Regions from separate parts of the Homo sapiens genome. Here all the other regions are linked to region 2. The links are contacts of gene promoters, found by promoter capture Hi-C in blood cells and fetal thymus (Javierre and others, 2016). All regions are on one chromosome and are shown on one strand. Each heading gives the region's core, a stretch centred on a gene start or on the middle of the fragment in contact. The rest is flanking DNA. Distances are from core to core; before and after follow the strand shown.

Evidence for each region. Contacts are between HindIII fragments. The CHiCAGO score rates a contact against its expected background, and 5 or more counts as called.
Region 1: a contact is called between the fragment with the promoter of CYBC1 here and the fragment with the promoter of DCXR in region 2, in 5 of 17 cell types (activated CD4 T cells, naive CD4 T cells, naive CD8 T cells and 2 more). The highest score is 6.3, in activated CD4 T cells.
Region 3: a fragment that was not itself captured here is called in contact with the fragment with the promoter of DCXR in region 2 in 1 of 17 cell types (activated CD4 T cells); the score reaches 5.6 in activated CD4 T cells.
Region 4: a fragment that was not itself captured here is called in contact with the fragment with the promoter of DCXR in region 2 in 1 of 17 cell types (erythroblasts); the score reaches 5.0 in erythroblasts.
Region 5: a fragment that was not itself captured here is called in contact with the fragment with the promoter of DCXR in region 2 in 4 of 17 cell types (non-activated CD4 T cells, M2 macrophages, total CD8 T cells and 1 more); the score reaches 7.1 in non-activated CD4 T cells.

What each region holds. Positions count from the first base shown.
Region 1 is chr17:82,448,385-82,452,426 of GRCh38, reverse strand. It overlaps CYBC1 (cytochrome b-245 chaperone 1), which reads left to right and starts at 1,675. Exons shown (of 7, transcript NM_001033046.4): 1 at 1,675-1,727; 2 at 3,135-3,257. The coding sequence starts at 3,173. RefSeq lists silencers at 1,615-1,974, 3,285-3,334 and an enhancer at 2,605-2,864. The HindIII fragment of the contact is 1,869 bases long and covers 926-2,794 here.
Region 2 is chr17:82,036,346-82,038,946 of GRCh38, reverse strand. DCXR (dicarbonyl and L-xylulose reductase) reads left to right here and starts at 1,250. Exons shown (of 8, transcript NM_016286.4): 1 at 1,250-1,316; 2 at 1,400-1,497; 3 at 1,934-2,088; 4 at 2,184-2,226; 5 at 2,304-2,403; 6 at 2,499-2,563. The coding sequence starts at 1,265. DCXR-DT (DCXR divergent transcript) reads right to left here and starts at 1,029. Exons shown (of 2, transcript NR_159948.1): 1 at 679-1,029. RefSeq lists a silencer at 1,030-1,859. The HindIII fragment of the contact is 4,930 bases long and covers 1-2,601 here.
Region 3 is chr17:82,525,766-82,529,606 of GRCh38, reverse strand. The region is part of intron 1 of FOXK2 (forkhead box K2); the gene reads right to left. Among named protein-coding and RNA genes, the nearest start is that of FOXK2, 8.0 kb to the right of the region's middle. The HindIII fragment of the contact is 1,294 bases long and covers 1,244-2,537 here.
Region 4 is chr17:81,684,077-81,688,238 of GRCh38, reverse strand. HGS (hepatocyte growth factor-regulated tyrosine kinase substrate) reads right to left here. Exons shown (of 22, transcript NM_004712.5): 1 at 4,136-4,162; 2 at 2,550-2,634; 3 at 1,852-1,927; 4 at 1,144-1,236. Among named protein-coding and RNA genes, the nearest start is that of HGS, 2.1 kb to the right of the region's middle. RefSeq lists a silencer at 3,998-4,097. The HindIII fragment of the contact is 2,575 bases long and covers 874-3,448 here.
Region 5 is chr17:82,422,329-82,426,758 of GRCh38, reverse strand. It overlaps HEXD (hexosaminidase D), which reads right to left. Exons shown (of 13, transcript NM_001330542.2): 3 at 2,256-2,365. It overlaps HEXD-IT1 (HEXD intronic transcript 1), which reads right to left and starts at 1,434. Exons shown (of 1, transcript NR_170223.1): 1 at 155-1,434. It overlaps LOC124904091 (a long non-coding RNA gene), which reads left to right. Exons shown (of 3, transcript XR_007065958.1): 3 at 307-847. RefSeq lists an enhancer at 1,941-2,776. The HindIII fragment of the contact is 7,971 bases long and covers 1-4,430 here.

The DNA.
Region 1 (4,042 bases), core at 426-2,925, 410 kb before region 2:
CAACAGAAGGGAGTTTTTAGGTTAAGATAAGGGTTTGTGGAGACCAAGATTTCCATTAAGCAGAGGAAGTCTCCAGGTAGCAGGCTTCAGAGAGAATAGATTGTAAGTGCTTCTTATCAGAGTTCTCCCTGAAGCAGGAAAAAGACCTGGAAAGGAACGGGGATTCGCTACAGAATGTAGATTTTCTTCACAAGGGACAGCTTTGCAGGGCTATTTCAAAATAAGTCGAAGAAATTTAATGTGGGGTAAAGTACTTCCATTTCTTCCAAGGCTTCCTATCTGTCATGTAGTCCTATACCAGAGTCAGGCTGGAATTTGGCGTCATTGCTACAGAGTCTACTTTGTCAACTTCAAGATCTGTTTTTGTTTTGTTTTGTTATTTTTTATTGAGATGGAGTCTCACTCTGTTGCCCAGGCTGGAGAGCAGTGGCACGATCTCGGCTCACTGCAAGCTCTGCCTCCCGGGTTCACGCCATTCTCCTGCCTCAGCCTCCCGAGTAGCTGGGACTATGAGCACCCGCCACCACGCCCAGCTAATTTTTTTGTGTTTTTAGTAGAGATGAGGTTTCACTGTGTTAGCCAGGATGGTCTCAATCTCCTGACCTCGTGATCTGCCCACCTTGGCCTCCCAAAGTGCTGGGATTACAGGCGTGAGCCACCGCACCTGGCCACCTCAAGATCTGTTTTAATGTGAATGCTGGTCAGCTGTGTGCCTGAATTCCAAAAGGGAGGAGGGAGTGAGGTATGTCTGTCTCCCCCTTCCCATCACTGCCTGAGCTAGTTTTTCAGGATAACTTGGGAATGCTCTTGGCCAAGCGGAAGGGTCCATTCAGATGGTTGAGGTTTCGAATTGCTGACTGTATCCTTGTAGAATCCTTTAGTACAGTCTTGTCTTCCACATTTCCAGTAATTCACTCTAGAAGCTTGTTCACATTCAGGTTAAATTTTTTCTGGCAAGACTACTTCATAGTGTTGTGTACTTCTGATATCTAACTGACCTTTTTGCGATGTTAATTAGCAGTCATTGATGACATTGCCTAGGTCCGTTAATTCATAGGGTGATGTTTTAATCCTACTGTTTCTTCTTCATTTATTAGCGGGAAAACTTCTATAATGAGAAATTCTTCTCATGCAGTATTTGGTTACTCTGCTGTAAATTTCATAAAGGCAGGACAAATGCTTGATGCTTTCCTTTTATTAACCAGGCCACAAACTGGGGTGAGCTTACCAGCATCCTCCAAAGGTGAACAGAGTTAAAAAATACATTATTATGAATTACAGACTGGAGCATCTGAGGATTTTAAATTCACTCGAATTCCTGTTCTTATTCATGCTCAAATCTTCTTTTTTGGCAATGAGAACCGCTTCAGTTTCGCTTCTATGTTAGCAAGACGTTCATAGTCCTTGGTAAGTTCTTTGCTGTCGGATACGTTTCCCCGCACGTTTCTTTTTTTCAAGAAAACTGGCTTCTTTAGCAGGAACCACCCGCCTCCTCCTGCGGCTCCGCCCGGATCCCGGAAATCCGCTCGGCTCCGCCCCATCCAGGAAATGCTTGCGGCCCCGCCCCAATCCCGTAAGCGCGCGCGGCCCCGCCCCCAATCCCGGAAGCGCGCGCGGCCCCGCCCCCGAAAGTCGGCTCGGCTCCGCTCCAATCCCGGAAGTGCGCGCGGCCCCGCCCCCGCCGGTTCGCGTCTCTCTGCTGCGGCGCGGGGACCGCTGTGCTCTCGGTAGGCGGCTGGGCTGGGTGGGCTCCGCACTTCCTTCCCGCTCCGTGCCGCGCGTCCCGGCACCCTTAGGCCCACTCCGGGAGGGGTCTGCGTCCTGGGCCCGCCTGCCGGCTGTTCCGTGTCCCGCCGTGCCCGTCGCGGGCGGCCTCGCGCCTGTTCCGCTGCAGGTTGGCCCCGGCGGCGGGAGCGCCCCCGATCCGGACAAAGAAACGAGCGCTCGGTGCGACTAGCGGCGCGGGCGGCTTTGCCAGCGCGCGTGTGCTTGTGTCCGCGAGTGTGCGTGTGTGTGTGCATTTGGATGTGGAATGCCGGGTGTTTCGGGAGCAATGAGGCAACTGAGGCCCGGGAGGGAGCCCAGTCATATACCAGCATCTAGGATTGGTTTGTGTGATTTGAACCCACTATTTTTTATTTTTTTGAGACACGGTCTCACTCTGTCACCCAGGCTGGAGTCCAGTGGCACGATTTCTGCTCACTGCAGCCTCCACCTCCCGGCCTCAGGTGATCCTCCCAGCTCAGCCTCCTGAATAACTAGGACCACAGGCGTACACCACCACACCGGGCTGTTTTATGTATTTTCTGTGGAGACGGGGTTTCGCCACGTTGCCCTGGCTGGTCTTGAACTCCGTGACTCAAACAATCCGCACGCCTCGTCCTCCCAAAGTGCTGAGATTACAGGCCTGAGCCACCGCGCCCAGCCTGAACCCCCTACTTAATGTCAGAAATTTGATTTGACTTCACAGGGAAAGCCCTGAGAAACTACCAGAACGGGGTCCCTGGGGCCAGTGTTGGGAGCGTACGGTGAAGTGGCAGGGCTGCTGCGCCCGTGCGGAACTCCGCTGTGGAAGATTAGCCCCTTTGGTGACTCGTCGGTTCTGGCCGCTTTGGGACCCTCTACTGTGCAGTCTGAACTTTCAGCAGGTGGAGGAGGGCAGAGAGAGAGCTGAGATCGTTGGTCCATGCCAGTGCGAGAGCCAGTACGGCCGGAAGCCATGATGGGACTTTCAGTTCCTTTCTTGGTGGAGGCCAGCACAGGGGAGAGGGGGTGCCCACAGATGCTAGAAGCTTAAAGGCTGCTGGGGGCTAGCGGCCTCAGGACATAAGGTTTCCAGACAGGACGGGGCAGGTGGTGATGCAGCTGTAGCTCGTGAGTCTGAGCGGGAAACAGCCCCCGCGCAGTCGGTGTCGCTGTGAACGGAAAAGGGCCTTCCTTACACAGGAAACGGGGTCTCTGGGGGATCCAGTGACGTGCCCAACCACAGAGACCAGGTGAGACTGGCTGATGGTGTCTGGGGCTGCAGGTGACTTAGTTGGGGGACCTGCTCTTGGCCTCCAGACTGGGCCTGATGGCGTGGGCGCCTGCCTGTGTGCAGGCCCAAGGGCTCAGCTGCCTCTGTCTGTTCCCAGACCCCTCCTCCTGTAGAGAGTGGTGCTGCCCTCTCGGGATGTACCTGCAGGTGGAGACCCGCACCAGCTCCCGCCTCCATCTGAAGAGGGCTCCAGGCATCCGGTCCTGGTCCCTGCTGGTTGGTAAGGCTCTCCACGTCCCTCCCCAGAACCCCAGAACCGGAAGCCTGACTTTCAAAAAGGATGAAAATGAAACAAAATATTTTCTCTTTTTTCTATTACCTTGAAATCTAATGGCTATTTTGTTTCTTTGTATCCATTCAAATTCTATCTGGTGTACTTGGTTTTACAGATAATGCATGTCTGTTTTGTCCCCTTTTAATCACTAACACCCAGCGTATTTAATATACTCTATGAGCTTTTCTGAGGTCACCATATTTTCCTTTGTACTTGTTTTGAACCACGTGATGGGTGATCGTGGGTTCCCATGTCTCCTCCTCCCTGGTCCTCAGACCTCTTCGTAGGACTCACAGTCCACTAACCACGTGATGGGTGATCGTGGGTTCCCATGTCTCCTCCTCCCTGGTCCTCAGACCTCTTCGTAGGACTCACAGTCCACTAACCACGTGATGGGTGATCGTGGGTTCCCATGTCTCCTCCTCCCTGGTCCTCAGACCTCTTCGTAGGACTCACAGTCCACTAACCACGTGATGGGTGATCGTGGGTTCCCATGTCTCCTCCTCCCTGGTCCTCAGACCTCTTCGTAGGACTCACAGTCCACTAACCACGTGATGGGTGATCGTGGGTTCCCATGTCTCCTCCTCCCTGGTCCTCAGACCTCTTCGTAGGACTCACAGTCCACTAACCACGTGATGGGTGATCGTGGGTTCCCATGTCTCCTCCTCCCTGGTCCTCAGACCTCTTCGTAGGACTCACAGTCCACTAACCACGTGATGGGTGATCGTGGG
Region 2 (2,601 bases), core at 1-2,500:
CAGCCTCCCACAAGAAGCTGGTGGAGCAGAGTGTTCCCTGACGCCTCCAAGGAAAGGAGACTCCCCTTCGCAGTCTTCTAAGTAACGGGTGGCTTCCCAGACAACGGCATTACTGCTTGACCAAGGAGCCCTCAAGCAGCCCTTATGCGGGAGTGACAGAGGGCTCACCTCTTGCCTTCTAGGTCACTTCTCACAATGTCCCTAGGTTATATTAGTAATGCAACAAAGAGTAATATTAAAAGCTAATGATTAATAATGTTTATACTAATGATTGATAATTATCCATGATCATGATCATTTTTATATCTAATTTGTATTATGACTATTTTTATTTTAACTGTTTTTTTTTTAAAGATGGAGTCTTGCTCTGTCGCCCAGGCTGGAGTGCAGTGGCGCAATCTCGGCTCACTGCAAGCTCCGCCTCCTGGGTTCGCGCCATTCTCCTGCCTCAGCCTCCTGAGTAGCTGGGACTACAGGTGCCCGCCACCGCGCCCGGCTAATTTTTTGTATTTTTAGTAGAGATGGGGTTTCACCGTGTTAGCCAGGATGGTCTCGATCTCCTGACCTCGTGATCCACCCGCCTCGGCCTCCCAAAGTGCTGGGATTACAGGCGTGAGCCACCGCTCCCGGCCTATTTTCTTTGTTATACTGAAACAGTTTGTGTCTTCAGTCTCTTGCCTTGGCATCTAGGTAATCCTTCGCCCACAGATGAAAGCGGAGCTCTGCTGACATTGGTGTCTTCTCCAGACGTAGTTGGTTGTCCAAATTCTTTCCCTTGGCTTTAAAGTGAGCCGGCGGTGTCCTGCTCCCAAGCCTGAGAGATGATGGGCACAGGCGACACTTTTTAGGACATGCCGATGTTTTCAGAAACAAAACAAGAAATGTTAGCCCTGAAATTCTCCATTTCACGTGTTCTTCCTGATATTAACCACACATTCTTTCCGATATTAACCACCACATCGTCTTTTTGCAATAATCTTGGCAGGGAAAAATATGCTAGCCAGGGTCCACTACGTCGATTTCAAGCACGGAAGATGGGTCACACCAGGCACTTCAAAAGACCCGTCCCTGAGGCAGCGGAGACCCCGCCCCGCCCCGGCGCGCCCACTCCTTTCGGCCAATCACTGCAGCGGGGAGCAGCTATTTGAATGTCCCCACCGCCTATCTGAAGGCCGCCCTGCCATTGGCCCCGCCGCGCCCCGCCCATCGTGGCCAGAGCTTCAAGTTCCGCAGCCCCAGTGCGGAGGGCGGAGACTGCGCCGACATGGAGCTGTTCCTCGCGGGCCGCCGGGTGCTGGTCACCGGGGCAGGCAAAGGTGGGCGGCGGGGAAAGGTGGGCAAAGGCCGGCGGCGGGCAGAGGCGGGCAGGGGACGCCTTCACTGAGCCCGCTCCCGGCAGGTATAGGGCGCGGCACGGTCCAGGCGCTGCACGCGACGGGCGCGCGGGTGGTGGCTGTGAGCCGGACTCAGGCGGATCTTGACAGCCTTGTCCGCGAGGTAGGTCCCGCCGGGTCCCAGCGCTGCGAGGCGGCGAGCCAGGAGGGGGCGGCAGCGAGCGGGGGCGGTACCTCTGTGCGCGACTCCGCCTCCCCTCGCGGGCGCTGCGCTTCTCACCGCGGCCTGGGCGCCCGCGCACCCTCTCTCGGGGCTGGTGGCCTGCGTGGGCGGCCGGGTGGTCGGCAGAGCCGCCGGGGCCCCCGGGCTCAGAAAGAGGCCGAAATGGCTGCGAAGCAGGCCCCGGGCAGGAGTCGCTCGGGCGCAGGGAGGAAGTGAACCGGCCGGAGGTAGCGCCCGGCTGCTGGCCCCACAGTCCCGACACCTTCGGAACTCCTAACTCCTTTACTTGTCCGGCTGAAAGGTCACCAGCCCCAGTCCCCAGCTGTGCCGCTTGCTGGGCACAGAGCCTCTGGTAACTGCCCCCTGATACACACAGTGCCCGGGGATAGAACCCGTGTGCGTGGACCTGGGTGACTGGGAGGCCACCGAGCGGGCGCTGGGCAGCGTGGGCCCCGTGGACCTGCTGGTGAACAACGCCGCTGTCGCCCTGCTGCAGCCCTTCCTGGAGGTCACCAAGGAGGCCTTTGACAGGTGAGCCTGTGAGGGCGGAGGAACCTCAGGGAGGGGCTGTCCTGGAGGACGCAGCAGCCCTAATCTCTGACCAGGGTCTGTCCCTCGGCCTCTAGATCCTTTGAGGTGAACCTGCGTGCGGTCATCCAGGTGTCGCAGGTGAGCTGCCCTGTGGGCTGGACGGGAATTCTCGTGAGTGATGCCAGCTCTGCCTCACGGTCTCGCTGCGATTCCAGATTGTGGCCAGGGGCTTAATAGCCCGGGGAGTCCCAGGGGCCATCGTGAATGTCTCCAGCCAGTGCTCCCAGCGGGCAGTAACTAACCATAGCGTCTACTGTGAGTGCCCCAGCTGTGCCCTCAGCCCCACCCCAGCCCCAGCCTCGCCCTCATCACCGACCCCAGCCCCAGCCAGCTTGGGTTCCTCTTCGTAGGCTCCACCAAGGGTGCCCTGGACATGCTGACCAAGGTGATGGCCCTAGAGCTCGGGCCCCACAAGGTGAGCAGGGCTGGGGTACCTCCCCCAACCTAGGACAC
Region 3 (3,841 bases), core at 641-3,140, 490 kb before region 2:
CGAGATCAGCCTGGCCAACATGGTGAAACCCTGTCTATTAAAAATACAAAAATTAGCTGGGAGTGGGCACGCGCCTGTAATCCCAGGTACTCAGGAGGCTAAGGCAGGAGAATCACTTGAACCTGGGAGGCGGAGGTTGCAGTGAGCCAAGATCGTGCCACTGCATTCCAGCCTGGACGACAGAGCAGAACTCCATCTTGAAAAAAAAAAAAAAAAAATTAGCCGGCGTGGTGGCACGTGCCTGTAATTCCAGCTACTCAGGAGGCTGAGGCAGGAGAATCGCTTGAACCCGGGAGGTGGACACTGCAATGAGCCAAGATCACACCACTGCACTTCAGCCTGGGAAACAGAGCAAGACCCTGTCTCAAAAAAAAAAAAAAAAAAAAAAGGCGCTTTCAAGTATAATTTGAACAGATGCTTTGGTAGCATAAAGGTTTTAAGCAGGAATCATCTGTAAAAAAAATTATTAAAACTTACCACCAGTAGGACCAAGAGTCATAACCAACTTTTATTATATTATCAGCTGCCAGGTTGCTACGCAACAGGCGGCTCTCCCCTCCTGCGTCCTGTGCGTTGTAAGATTTTTCAGTGGCATCCCTGGCCTCTGTCCACTAGATGCCAGTAGCACCCGTCCTCCCAGTCTATGCCAACCAAATGTGCCTCCAGACACTGTCATACGTCCCAGGGAGGGGAAGGAGGCAGACTCACCCCGGTGTCGTACTCCAATGCCCTTCACAGGACAAAGAACACAAGCATTCCATCTCAAATGACAAACTGCAGCAAAAACCAAATACTGTCTAGAAATCTACGGAATTCTCAGCAGAGCACCTTCTCTGTTCCTAACAAATCAGCAGAGGCGTTTGAAGCCCAATGTGCACTCTAAACTGACGTGCACGAGGAAAGCAGGGCCGCAGGGGCTGTGGCTCTGGCACGAGGTACTTTCTGGTCTCCCTGCCACCACTTCCTAGGTACAGCTGTAACACCTTGTTCCGTGCTCAAAGCCCGCTTCACATTGTAGAGATGGTAATGTGTGCCTTAAACATGCCCTCCTGTACTGCATTTTAGCAGCAAATTCAAAAATTCCTCATGAAAAAGTGTGGAGGTTGATTTACTATGACTGTCATTATTTAAGATATTATAAATTGCTCCAAAAACCAAACATAAAAGAAAACAAGAGCCCCACAAAAATGTTAAACAGATAAGAATACTACTACCCAAATGCCAACTGCTTTCACTAAAAGCTTCCTTAATTTAGAAATCCTCTTTTCTTCATTTTCCAAAAAAATCTTTCTCTTCAACAAAGCAGGAATAGTTACATTTTCACAATGGAAAAATCTGCTGTTACTGTAACAGCCTCATCTCCTGGAATATTTCCACCAATCATGCACAGAGCTGTGCTGTACTTCTGCAACCGCAGGTCTAAATGGGACCTGCCAGTAAATGGGGGAGCCACGCCTGACTACAATCACTTCACTATTAATAAATGATCAGCACTTGAAAACATGTATAGGCCAGGCAGGGTGGCTCGCACCTGTAATCCCAGCACTTTGGCAGACTGAGGTGGGGGGACTGCTTGAGGACAGGAATTTGCGACCAGCCTGGGCAACATAGCGAGACCCCACGTCCAAAAAAAAATAAATTAGCCCTGAATGGCCATGCAGGCCTGTACTCTCAGCTACACGGGAGACTGAGGTGGGAAGATCGCTTGAGTCCAGGAGTTCAAGGCTGCAGTGAGCTATGATGGTGCCACTGTACTCCAGCCTGGGTGACAGAGTGAGACTCTAAATAATAAAATAAAAGGAACACAGAGTTTTACCACTGGAAGAAGTACTAAACACTAAGGTGAGGCAGAAGTAAGTTGGTTACTGGGTTTTTAACTTAAAGTAACAATTATGCTAAAATAGCTGCAATGTGTTCTGTGTCTACAAATCAGTGATAACAATGTATCTCAATTTGCCAAATGAATATCTTCGGTTTTGAGACAAAGTCTTGCTATGTCACCCAGGCTGGAGTACAGTGGCGCCATCTCAGCTCACCACAACCTTCACCCTGTGGGTTCAAGTGATTATCCTGCCTCAGCCTCCTGAGTTGCTGGGATTACAGGCATCCGCCACCATGCCCAGTTAATTTTTGTATTTTTAGTAGAGTCGGAGTTTCGCCATGTTGGCCAGGCTGATCTCGAACTCCTGACCTCAGATGATCCACCTGTCTCGGCTTCCCAAAGTGCTGGGATTACAGGCAAGAGCCACCGGGCCCAGCCAAAATTTCTTTAAAAGCTATCTCTACCAAAAATACAAAAATTAGCCAGCATGGTGGTGCATGCCTGTAATCCCAGCTCCTCGGGAGGCTGAGGCAGGAGAATCGCTTGAACCCAGGAGGCGGAGCTTAAATACAGAGTAGTTATTAAAGGCAACTGATTTGTACACTGAACACTTTTCAAAGTGCAAAGCGCCATTTGCCCTCTGCTATGAACATCCCTTTATTTATGCCAACACATGCCAACTCCTGTGTCCCAGGCTCAGCTCCACTCACAAGCTTGTCAGGAGTTTCAGGTCGCAAAACGAAGGCATTTCAGCCACCTTGCAGCCCTTCAATACGGAAACACACCAGACTTTCCTAGTAGCTCCGTTCCGACCCGCTCTGCTCAGCTCTTCAAACAACACAATCTCGTTTTCTTTTCCACTGGGAGCTGTCCTCCTTCAGACATCGTCTGCTGTCTACTCGGCAAAGAGCTGACCAGGCCTCAACTCCATTTCTTTCTTTTTTTTTTTTTTTTGAGACGGAGTCTCGCTCTGTCGCCCAGGTTGGAGTGCAGTGGCGCGATCTCGGCTCACTGCAAGCTCCAATCTCCTGGGTTCATGCCATTCTCCTGCCTCAGCCTCCCAAGTAGCTGGGACTAGAGGTGCCCGCCACCATGCCCAGCTAATTTTTTGTATTTTTAGTAGAGATGAGGTTTCACCGTGTTAACCAGGATGGTCTCAATCTCCTGACCTCATGATCCACCTGCCTCGGCCTCCCAAAGTGCTGGGATCACAGGCGTGAGCCACCGCACCCAGCCTCAACTCCCATTTCTTGGTGGTTCCTTCAGCCACTTCACCTTAGTGATGAGGTTTCCGCTCCTCCTAACCCTAATCTCAACTCTGCTCTCCTTACAAGGTCCCCACTTTACATGCACTCCTTCTACCTCCACTCCTTCCTTATTCTCCAGCCCTATGTCCAGCCTCCTTCCTTATCCTGGAGACAACAGCCCTCTCAAAGGCTGCCCAAGACTTCCTGATTGCCAAGCCATGTCCCTTGGCCATCTCCTTCCCAGGACCCCCTCCTTCTTACTTCTTCTTTCTGGTACTGGGATTCTCCGGGAAGCTCAGTTCTGCCCATCTGCATTCTGAGTAGGACAGAATCACTGTGAGTTCCCTCAATTCATTTATTGGAGTCTCCACCTGGAAAGCTCCAGAAGCCACTGACTGTCGGCTCATCTCTCTCCAGTCTTCACCTTGGAAGATACTGTCTCTGATTTAATAAACAAGTCTTCAAATCTGACATTACCAAACACAATCTGCCACATAAGAAAGAAAGTGAGGGATTCATGCCACATAAAGTGAGGGATTCATGCCACATAAGAAAGTGTGGGATTCAGGCCACATAAGAAAGTAAGTGTGGGATTCATGCCACGTAAGAAAGAAAGTGTGGGATTCATGCCACGTAAGAAAGAAAGTGTGGGATTCAGGCCACGTAAGAAAGAAAGTGTGGAATTACCACTGGGTAGAACTGATAGAGTTCATTTGGCATAGGACAGGGGTCACTCTTCTAAATAAACAGAGTTTTAATTTAGCACGTTAAA
Region 4 (4,162 bases), core at 912-3,411, 350 kb after region 2:
CAGACCCCCTGCAGCCATCCTCTCCCCCGGTTAGAGCGCAGCCTGGCCTCGCGTCTACGGCCCTCTCGGGGACGCCGTCCCGGTGTGACGTGCAGGACGGCGTGCGATCAGAGGCTGCTGCAAGCAGGCTCCGGGGCACTTGCACCTCAGCCTAAGCTCCTTTCCAGAACCCCTCTGCATCCTCAGCGGCGCCTTCCCTTCACAGCCCTGCCTCACCCCAGAGGAGCGAACCGGCTCAGGATCTGCAGCCTGACTGAAGGAGCTCAGGAGCACCAGGGTCGGGCAGGGCCAGACTCCGGCACCTTCCGCCTCTCAGCCAGGACAGGACGGGACAGGAAGCCAGCCAAAGTGGCCAGTGAGGGCCTTTGAGAGGCCTGGCTGTCCACCGGGATCCCCGGGCAGGTTCTCAGCTGTGTGAGTCCAGGGAGTCTCCTATGAGACCCAGGTCTGGCCCACAGGTTGGGACAGAAGGGGAGCAGCCTGACTACATGGGACACTCTTTCTCCTTGACACCTGCAACAGCATCCCCACTGCATCACAGTCCACATCACAGTCCCTGCAGGTGTCCCCAGCACAATCCCTGCAGATGTCCCCGGCACAATCTCCTGGGGATCTGGAGGGCTTTTCCTCCTCTGCCCAGGAAAGCATGAAGCCCTCGCTCTCCAAAACAGCTCTTATCCCCGCCAGACACATCCGATCTTACAAGCCCCCGCTCAGAGCCCTCCCAGGCCCCTGCCTGTGGGATGTGGCCAGCCTGCCCTCCGGACCACAGCCACTCTCACACACGATAGCCACCACCTGCCCTGCCCACCCAGTGGCATCTACTCACCTTCCCTAAGACAGCAGGTGCCCAAGCCCTGCCTCCCGGAAGCTTCCCCCAGGCCCCAGGGTCGCTGTCACCTTGGTCCTCCAGACACAGCACCCCAGGCCGGCTCCTGCTAAACCCTGACCTCCCTGGATTGGGGCTCACGGCCCTGTCTCTCCGACTCATGAGTGCGAGCTTGCGCAGTGCAGGGACCACCGATCTGCACCTGCACATTTTCCGCCACACCTGGTGCTGTTCTGTCATCAGTGCCCAGTAAACACCCGGAGAAGCAAAGGTGCCAGCCTGGGTGGCCACCCGCATGCCCCCGTCTCACCCACCTTCAGCAGGTCCTTCAGCTCCTCCATGGTCTGCTTGTTGGCCACCTCATCATGAACTGTCTGGCCACAGTTCTTTACCACAGATTCCATGACCTGCAGATGCCCAGGAAGGGAAGGGTTGGGCCAGTGGTCAGGGCAGGGCCCCTCCTCCTCCCGGACAGACCCACCTCCCTGTGGGACAGCAGAGCCCTTCGACAGGCCCGTCAGTGGCCGGTGGGGAACCCGGTGGGACAGCAGAGCCCTTCGACAGGCCCGTCAGTGGCCGGAGGGGAACCCGGTGGGACAGCAGAGCCCTTCGACAGGCCCGTCAGTGGCCGGTGGGGAACCCGGTGGGACAGCAGCCCTTCAACAGGCCCGTCAGGCCAGTGGGGAACCCACATCTGAGACTCAGCAGCCTGCACAGCACCGCTCCGTGACGCCAAGTCTCACTGCCAAGCACAGCAATGACATCCGCCTTCTGGTGTTTACTCACGCAGGACCGGCTGAAGAAGTGGTGCCCACTCCCTCCCCTATCTCCTGTCTCTCCCTCAGCGTGACCCTCTCCTAGGTGGCACTGTTCACACAGGCACTCAAGGCTGAGTGGAAACTCTCCTGCTTGATGTATGCCCAGGGAGGTGGGCAAGGCCACAGGACAAACTCTTCTCATGCTGTCGTGACTAGTAGGGGGTAGGGACCCTGGGGGCCACTGAGGCACGGGGGTCTGCTTACCTCCAGGGCATACAAGGCGACGTGTGGGTTCTTGTCGTTGACTTTCTTCTTGATGGAATTCACAGCATATTTTGCTCTGAAAAGGAAACATTGATAAAAGCAGAGAAAAACGGGAAAAAAATAGTCTCAGCAACTAAGATGAGAAAAGCTCATCTGCTGCCAGGTGCAGTGGCTCACGCCTGTAATCCCAGTGCTTTGGGAGGCCAAGGCAGGAGGATTGCTTGAGCCCAGGAGTCTGAGACCAGCCTGTGCATTACGGCAAAAACCCATCTCTACCAAAATACAAAAAATCAGCCGGGCGTGATGGTGAATGCCTGTAGTCCCAGCTACTCAGGAGGTTGAGGTGGGACGATCGTTTGAGCTTGGGAGGCAGGGGCTGCAGTGAGCTGAGATCACGCCACTGCACTTCAGCCTGGGTGACAAAGCAAGGCCCCGTCTTAAAAAAAAAAGTCTGTCTGCCATCTTAGTCTTTGAGAACCCCGAAGCAAATACAAACATAACCAGGTATCTGCAAGCTGTACAGAGAAAACCCCTTAATCCTCCAAGATGTCAAAAAATCCTAGCATGTAGCCCATGCAGTTCTCCACATAAGAGCCTAACACGGTCAGCTACGTCGTGGAGACCCAACGGGCACCAAGCGAGCCCAGCTTAGTGCACGGCTGCTCCTCCGCATCAGGGCACAGGCCCCGCTAACTCACTGTGTGTCCCCTTGGCGGATCAGGTCGCAGATCTGCAAAATGGACTCCCAATCTGTCTCCAACAGGAGCTGGCTGGTCGCCTTGTCTGAGAGAGAAAATGCCATGAAAGGGAGGGGTTATCCTGCTGGACGCCCCGTGCAGCACCCCAGCTTGGCAGCAGCTGGGGGGGACTCTCTCCTTCCCCTTTAGACATTTGGACCAAATGAAAAAGCATGACAGAATCCTCCTGAGCGTGCTGATGGGCAGGGAAGTGCCATCCTCCCCAGGGAAGCAGCAAACAGCGTAAGAGCACACCAGGTGCTGGTCCAAGCCCTCCCACAACCCGCGAGCGAGGTAAAGACACTCAGCAGAGAGGCGAGGGCACTGCCGTGAGTCACACAGCTCACCAGAGACAGAGGCTGATTCACTCTTAAACATCAGGCTCGGCTGCTTCTCAACAAAGAACCCTATCACCCGTCCCTTGGAGTCCCCGTTCGCCCAGATGCTCCCGGTTTCAATGGGACCTTAGCTTGGGCAAGGGCTAGAGAGGCCTGCAGTGTAGACTCCAGGCCCCTTGCTCCAAGCCAAGTGCTTTGGAAATAAGGGCAGAACGGGGCTCCAAGGAGGACTCGCCAGCATACCTGTCATCATACCACATCACTGCTGTCTCCAACAACTGGCCCCTCTGGGGGGGCAGCTCCAGCTCTGCCCACATCGCCTTTCCCGGATACAGAAACGATCTAACAAGCCAAGCCACGTCCACTTTCTATACTGATTCAGTAGTTAACCTCTGGATTCATCCCTGAAGCACTGAACTACCTGTGTGGCTGAGATACTCAGTCTGCTTGCTGGTTCCCTTGGCAAGGAAGGTGTCTCACTTGAAGTCTCCTTGAAAACCCTACTTGACAAAAAGGCAAGCTTGGGCAGCCCATTCGACCACCCAAGCTCCTACCCCCAAACATTAGACGCATTTTCCACGTGCTGCTGGGCACGTGCACATCAACATTCGTTTCCCTCCCAAAACGCGTCAATTCCAGGAGGCTCAGATAGGATCAGCTTTCACCTCCAAAAACGTGAGAAAACGCCTTCCTAAACCATTAGGCACTTCCCGAAGCCAGTGTGGGAACAAAAGGTGGGTCTGGGACCCGCAGCCCCCAAGAGAGCTCGAAGGTCCCAGAGAGAACACTGCCGGCTCCACCCTTCGAGGCCCAGTGTTTTGGGTCAGAAGCCCAAGTGCGAGCCTAACATCCGACTGAGTCACCCACTTTCATGACTCAGGCCTTGTGGCCCACTCGGCCGGGTGCTCGTCGGTCAAGAGGAAATCGGCCGAATGCCCGGGCCCGCGGAGGAGCGAGGTCGCCGAGCGCCCCTGGCGCCCTGCGCGGACCCTCGCAGAGCCCCATTTGCCAACGCCCGACGGACGCCGACCCCACGGCCGCGCCGAGGGTCCAGGATCGGCGGCTCCGAACCCGGGAGGACAGCGGGCCGGGGAGAGGCGGGCAGGGCGGCCGGTCCGCGCCCCTCGGGCCCTCGGGGCCGCGCTGACTCAGCGCCGGGCGGAGGCTGCGGGCTGACCAAGGCCGAGCCGTCGGGTGGGGACGCGTTACCTAGGAGACGCTCGAAGGTGCCGCTGC
Region 5 (4,430 bases), core at 1,817-4,316, 390 kb before region 2:
CCTCAGCCTCCCAAAGTGCTGGGATTACAGGCGTGAGCCACAGCGCCCAGCCCAAGTCTTATAATTTTTAAAAAAGGCTTACCAGTTTGGTAGCCAGGATGGTGTTGCATTATTGATTTAGTTTCTTTGATTTGAGTACTATGAGGGTTTAACATTTTCTTTCTTTCTTTCCTTTTCTTTTGAGACAGGCTCTGGCTCTGTTGCCCAGGTTGGAGTGCAGTGGCGCCATCTCAGCTCACTGCAGCCTCTGGGTCCTGGGTGTTAATCCAAACTGCACCATTTTGTAAGCCCCCTGCTGTTTTCCAGACCCAGGTTGAAGTGAAACATTCCACGGGGTTTGGGCTGTGAGGAACATCCTGCCCAACATCCTGACCACACGGCCCAGGAACATCCCGACCACCCGACCACACGGCCCAGGAACATCCCGAACATACCTTGCTGGGCAAAGGCCCAGCTGAAGGAACATCCTGATCATATTCTGCTGGGAACAAGGACCCAACTGCCTCATCATGGGAACATCTCTCAACATCTTCCCAGGCAGAAGCCCTACTGCCCAAACCCCTCCCGTCCAGGCCTGTAAGTACCCCAGCCTGTAAGCGGCGGTGGGCTCTGGCATTAAGCTGGTCCCCCCTCTGTAGGTTTCTGCACTATACCTCTGTTGCTGTAGAGACGCCCTCTCTCTCTCTGTCTTTCTTTAACCCTCGCCTTCCCTTTAAAAAAACCTAACACCAGGCTCAAGCCATCCTCCTATCTCAGCCTCCTGAGTAGCTTGGACTACAGCCCCATGCCACTATCCATGGCTATTTTTTGCATTTTATGTAGAGATGGGGTTTCACCATGTTGCCCAGGCTGGTCTCGAACTCCTGAGCTCAAGTGATCCACCCACCTCGGCCTCCCAAAGTGCTGGGATTATAGGCGTGAGCCACTGCACCCGGCCTAATTTTTGTATTTCACATAGAGATGGGGTTTTACCATGTTACCCAGGCTGGTCTCAAACTCCTGAGCTCCAGTGATCTGCCCACCTTGGCCTCCCAAATTGCTGGGATTACAGGCGTGAGCCACTGCTCCTGGCCTTCACATTTTCTTATATGCTTATTGGCCTTTTTTGTTTCTTCCTTTGGGATTGGCCAGTTAATGTCCATTGTGCATTTATCTTTGGGGCCGTTATTGATTTTCACAGAGACCTGTGATTTTAGCATTAAGCAGGGGCCTCCCATCTCCACCACACCTGATTTTATTGATTTTGATTCTCTCCCCTTTAATTCTTCTCTTCTCTAACTCAAGGCTCAACTGTGGCCTGAAGAGCAGCCCCTCCCTGCGCGGAGGCCTCCTCCAGCATCCTCCAGCCTTCTCTAGCTCAGCCTTCTACAGCCTCCTCCAGCCTTCTCCAGCCTCCTCTGACCTTCCCTGGCCTCCTCCAGCCTTCTCTAGCCCAGCCTTCTCTGGCCTTCTCTAACCTTATCTAGCCTTCTCTAACCTCTAGCCCAGCCTTCTCCAGCCTTCTCCAGCCTTCTCTAGCCTCCTCCGGCCTTCTCTAGCCCAGCCTCCTCCAGCCTCCTCCAGCCTTCTCCGGCCTCCTCCAGCCTCCTCCAGCCTTCTCTAGCCTCCTCCAGCCTTCTCCAGCCTTCTCTGGCCTCCTCCAGCCTCCTCCGGCCTTCTCTAGCCCAGCCTCCTCCAGCCTTCTCCAGCCTTCTCCAGCCTTCTCTGGCCTCCTCCAGCCTCCTCCAGCCTTCTCTAGCCTCCTCCAGCCTTCTCCGGCCTTCTCTAGCCCAGCCTTCTCTGGCCTTCTCTAACCTTCTGTAGTCCAGCCTTCTCCAGCCTTCTCCAGCCTTCTCTAGCCTTCTCCAGCTTTCTCTAGCCTTCTCTAGCCCAGCCTTCTCTGGCCTTCCTTCTCTGGCCTTCTCTAACCTTCTCTAACCTTCTCTAACCTTCTGTAGTCCAGCCTTCTCCCATCAACAGAAGAAACGCCTGCAGGACAGAGACAGGAACTGCAGCTCTTCCCTGTAGGGGGCGCTGCTGATGCTTACTTTCCCTTTAAATGTTTCAAAATTCTCTCCAGTGAATGTTTGAAATGAAACTTTGTTTTCATACAATTAAAGAGATGAATTTAAAAAGACAAAAAAGGAATGTACCCACCACTGTTCAGTTCCTGACTGTGCCACCCGCACCTCCAGGTTGCTGCTCCTCCTGCCCTGCGGAACCCCCCCTTCCCCGCTTTCACGCCGCGCCCCTGTACCTGCCACGGGCAGTGTTACCTGTAGGCGTACTTGGCCCTCAGCAGCCTCAGAGGGCCCTCGTAGGGAAACATGTCTTCATACTCAATGAGGAGGCCGTTTGCACCTAGCGCACGGAACAGAGGAAAAATCTGGGGGGTAAACAGGGAGGGGTTAGGAAGAAGTGGCTGCTGGAGCACGATGTGGCAAGTCCACAGCAGGGAGACGCCTTCCCTTTCAGCCTGTGGAGACTGTGGGAGTTGCTACTTCTATTTCTCCTGGGAACCTTAAATCCGGAATGTGTACTTTACGTTATGCCAAATGAAACTCCCCGTTCCAGTGACTATTTTGCACAGAAGGGGAGATATGCTATGAAACAGGGCTGCTACTCAACGCGCTGGTGGCTCAGCTTGGGAGGGACGGGTCCGGCCAGCAGGGAGCCACCAAGAAGCAGCTCTTCATGCACGGCGGCCCAGCAAGGCAGCCAGGCTGAGGGGCACCAGCAAGGCATGGGGGACAGGGCAGCCAGGCTGAAGGAGAATGGCAAGGCATGGGGGACGGGGCAGGAGGAGCCGGGGCAGGGGGAGCAGGGCTCTGAAGGGTTGGGGTCAGCACCTGGGGGAGGTGAGAGAGGGGTGCAGAACTCATTCGTTCCTGGTCTGTACTCATGGGGTCCCTTCCCCCTTATTCTCCTCCCCACTTCCTTGTCTTTCTCTCTTTTTTTTTTTTTTTTGAGATGGAGTCTCGCTCTCTCGCCCAGGCTGGAGTGGAGTGGCGTGATCTTGGCTCGTTGCAACCTCTGCCTCCCGGGTTCAAGCGATTCTCCTGCCCCAGCCTCCCGAGTAGCTGGGATTACAGGCGCCCGCCCCGATGCCCAGCTAATTTTTGTATTTTTAGTAGAGACGGGGTTTCACCATGTTGGCCAGGCTGGTCTCGAACTCCTGACCTCAGGTAATCTGCCCCTCGGCCTTCCAAAATGCTGGGATTACAGGTGTGAGCCACTGTGCCCGGCCTCTCTCTTTTTTTTAACAGATGGGGTCTCACTCTGTTGCCCAGGCTGGAGCGTGCTGGCATGATCATGGCTCGCTGCAGCACCCAACTCCTGGGCTCAAGTGATCCTCCAGCCTCAGCCTTCCAAGGAGCTGGGACTACAGGCACATGCTAGGCCTCCTGGATGACACACATGCAGGAGAACTAAGGAGCCCCAGCTGACAGTTGGGATGAACTGCCGGACATGGAAGGCCACGCGGACCATCAGAGGTTTCTAGATGTTACGGGGCTGTGACCACCTGAGGGCACCTCGGTCAGAAAAGCAGAATCACGCAGCCAACCCACAGAAACACAAGGGGTGATGAATGGGGACCTCAAGTTTGGGGAGATCTGTCACGCAGCAACAGATGATGGAAACAGGGACTCCAGCTGTGTGTAAGTTGGATCTTCTTTGCCTATATTCAATTGTCAGAACGCCTTTCCTTTCTTTTTTTTTTTGAGATGGAGTTTTGCTCTTGTCCCCCAGGATGGAGTGCAGTGGCACGATCTCAGCTCACCACAACCTCCGCCTCCCGGGTTCAAGCAATTCTCCTGCCTCAGTCTCCCGAGTAGCTGAGATTACAGGCACCTGACACCACGCCTGGCTAATTTTTGTATTTTTAATAGAGACAGGGTTTCACCATGTTGGTCAGGCTGGTCTCGAACTCCTGACCTCAGGTGATCCACCCTCCTCAGCCTCCCAAAGTGCTGGGATTATAGGCATGAGCCACCGCGCCTGGCCCAAGTCAAAATGCCTCTTCATCAGCTGTATGTAAGTTCAGTCTTCTTTGCCATATTCAATTTGTCAGAACGCCTTTTCATCTCTGTTTGCTTTTTTCTTTTCTGTCATCTGTTTCCAAATACTGCACTTTCCATGGTGTCTACTCACTTGTACACTTCTTATAGTTTAGTCTTCATTAAAAACATTGTTTTTTCCTTATAATTCATTTCTGAGCTCCACAGGCAATTTTTTACAACCTCCTTTTGTCTGATTACCACATTTCTGGGCTTTTTTTTTTTTAGACTGAGTCTTGCTCTATCGCCCAGGCTGGAGTGCAGTGGCACGATCTTGGCTCACTGCAACCTCCACCACCCAGGTTCAGGTGATTCTCATGCCTCAGCCTCCCAAGTAGGTGGGATTACAGTTGTGAGCCGCTGAGCCTGGCCTGGGCTTTTCTATTTCTGATT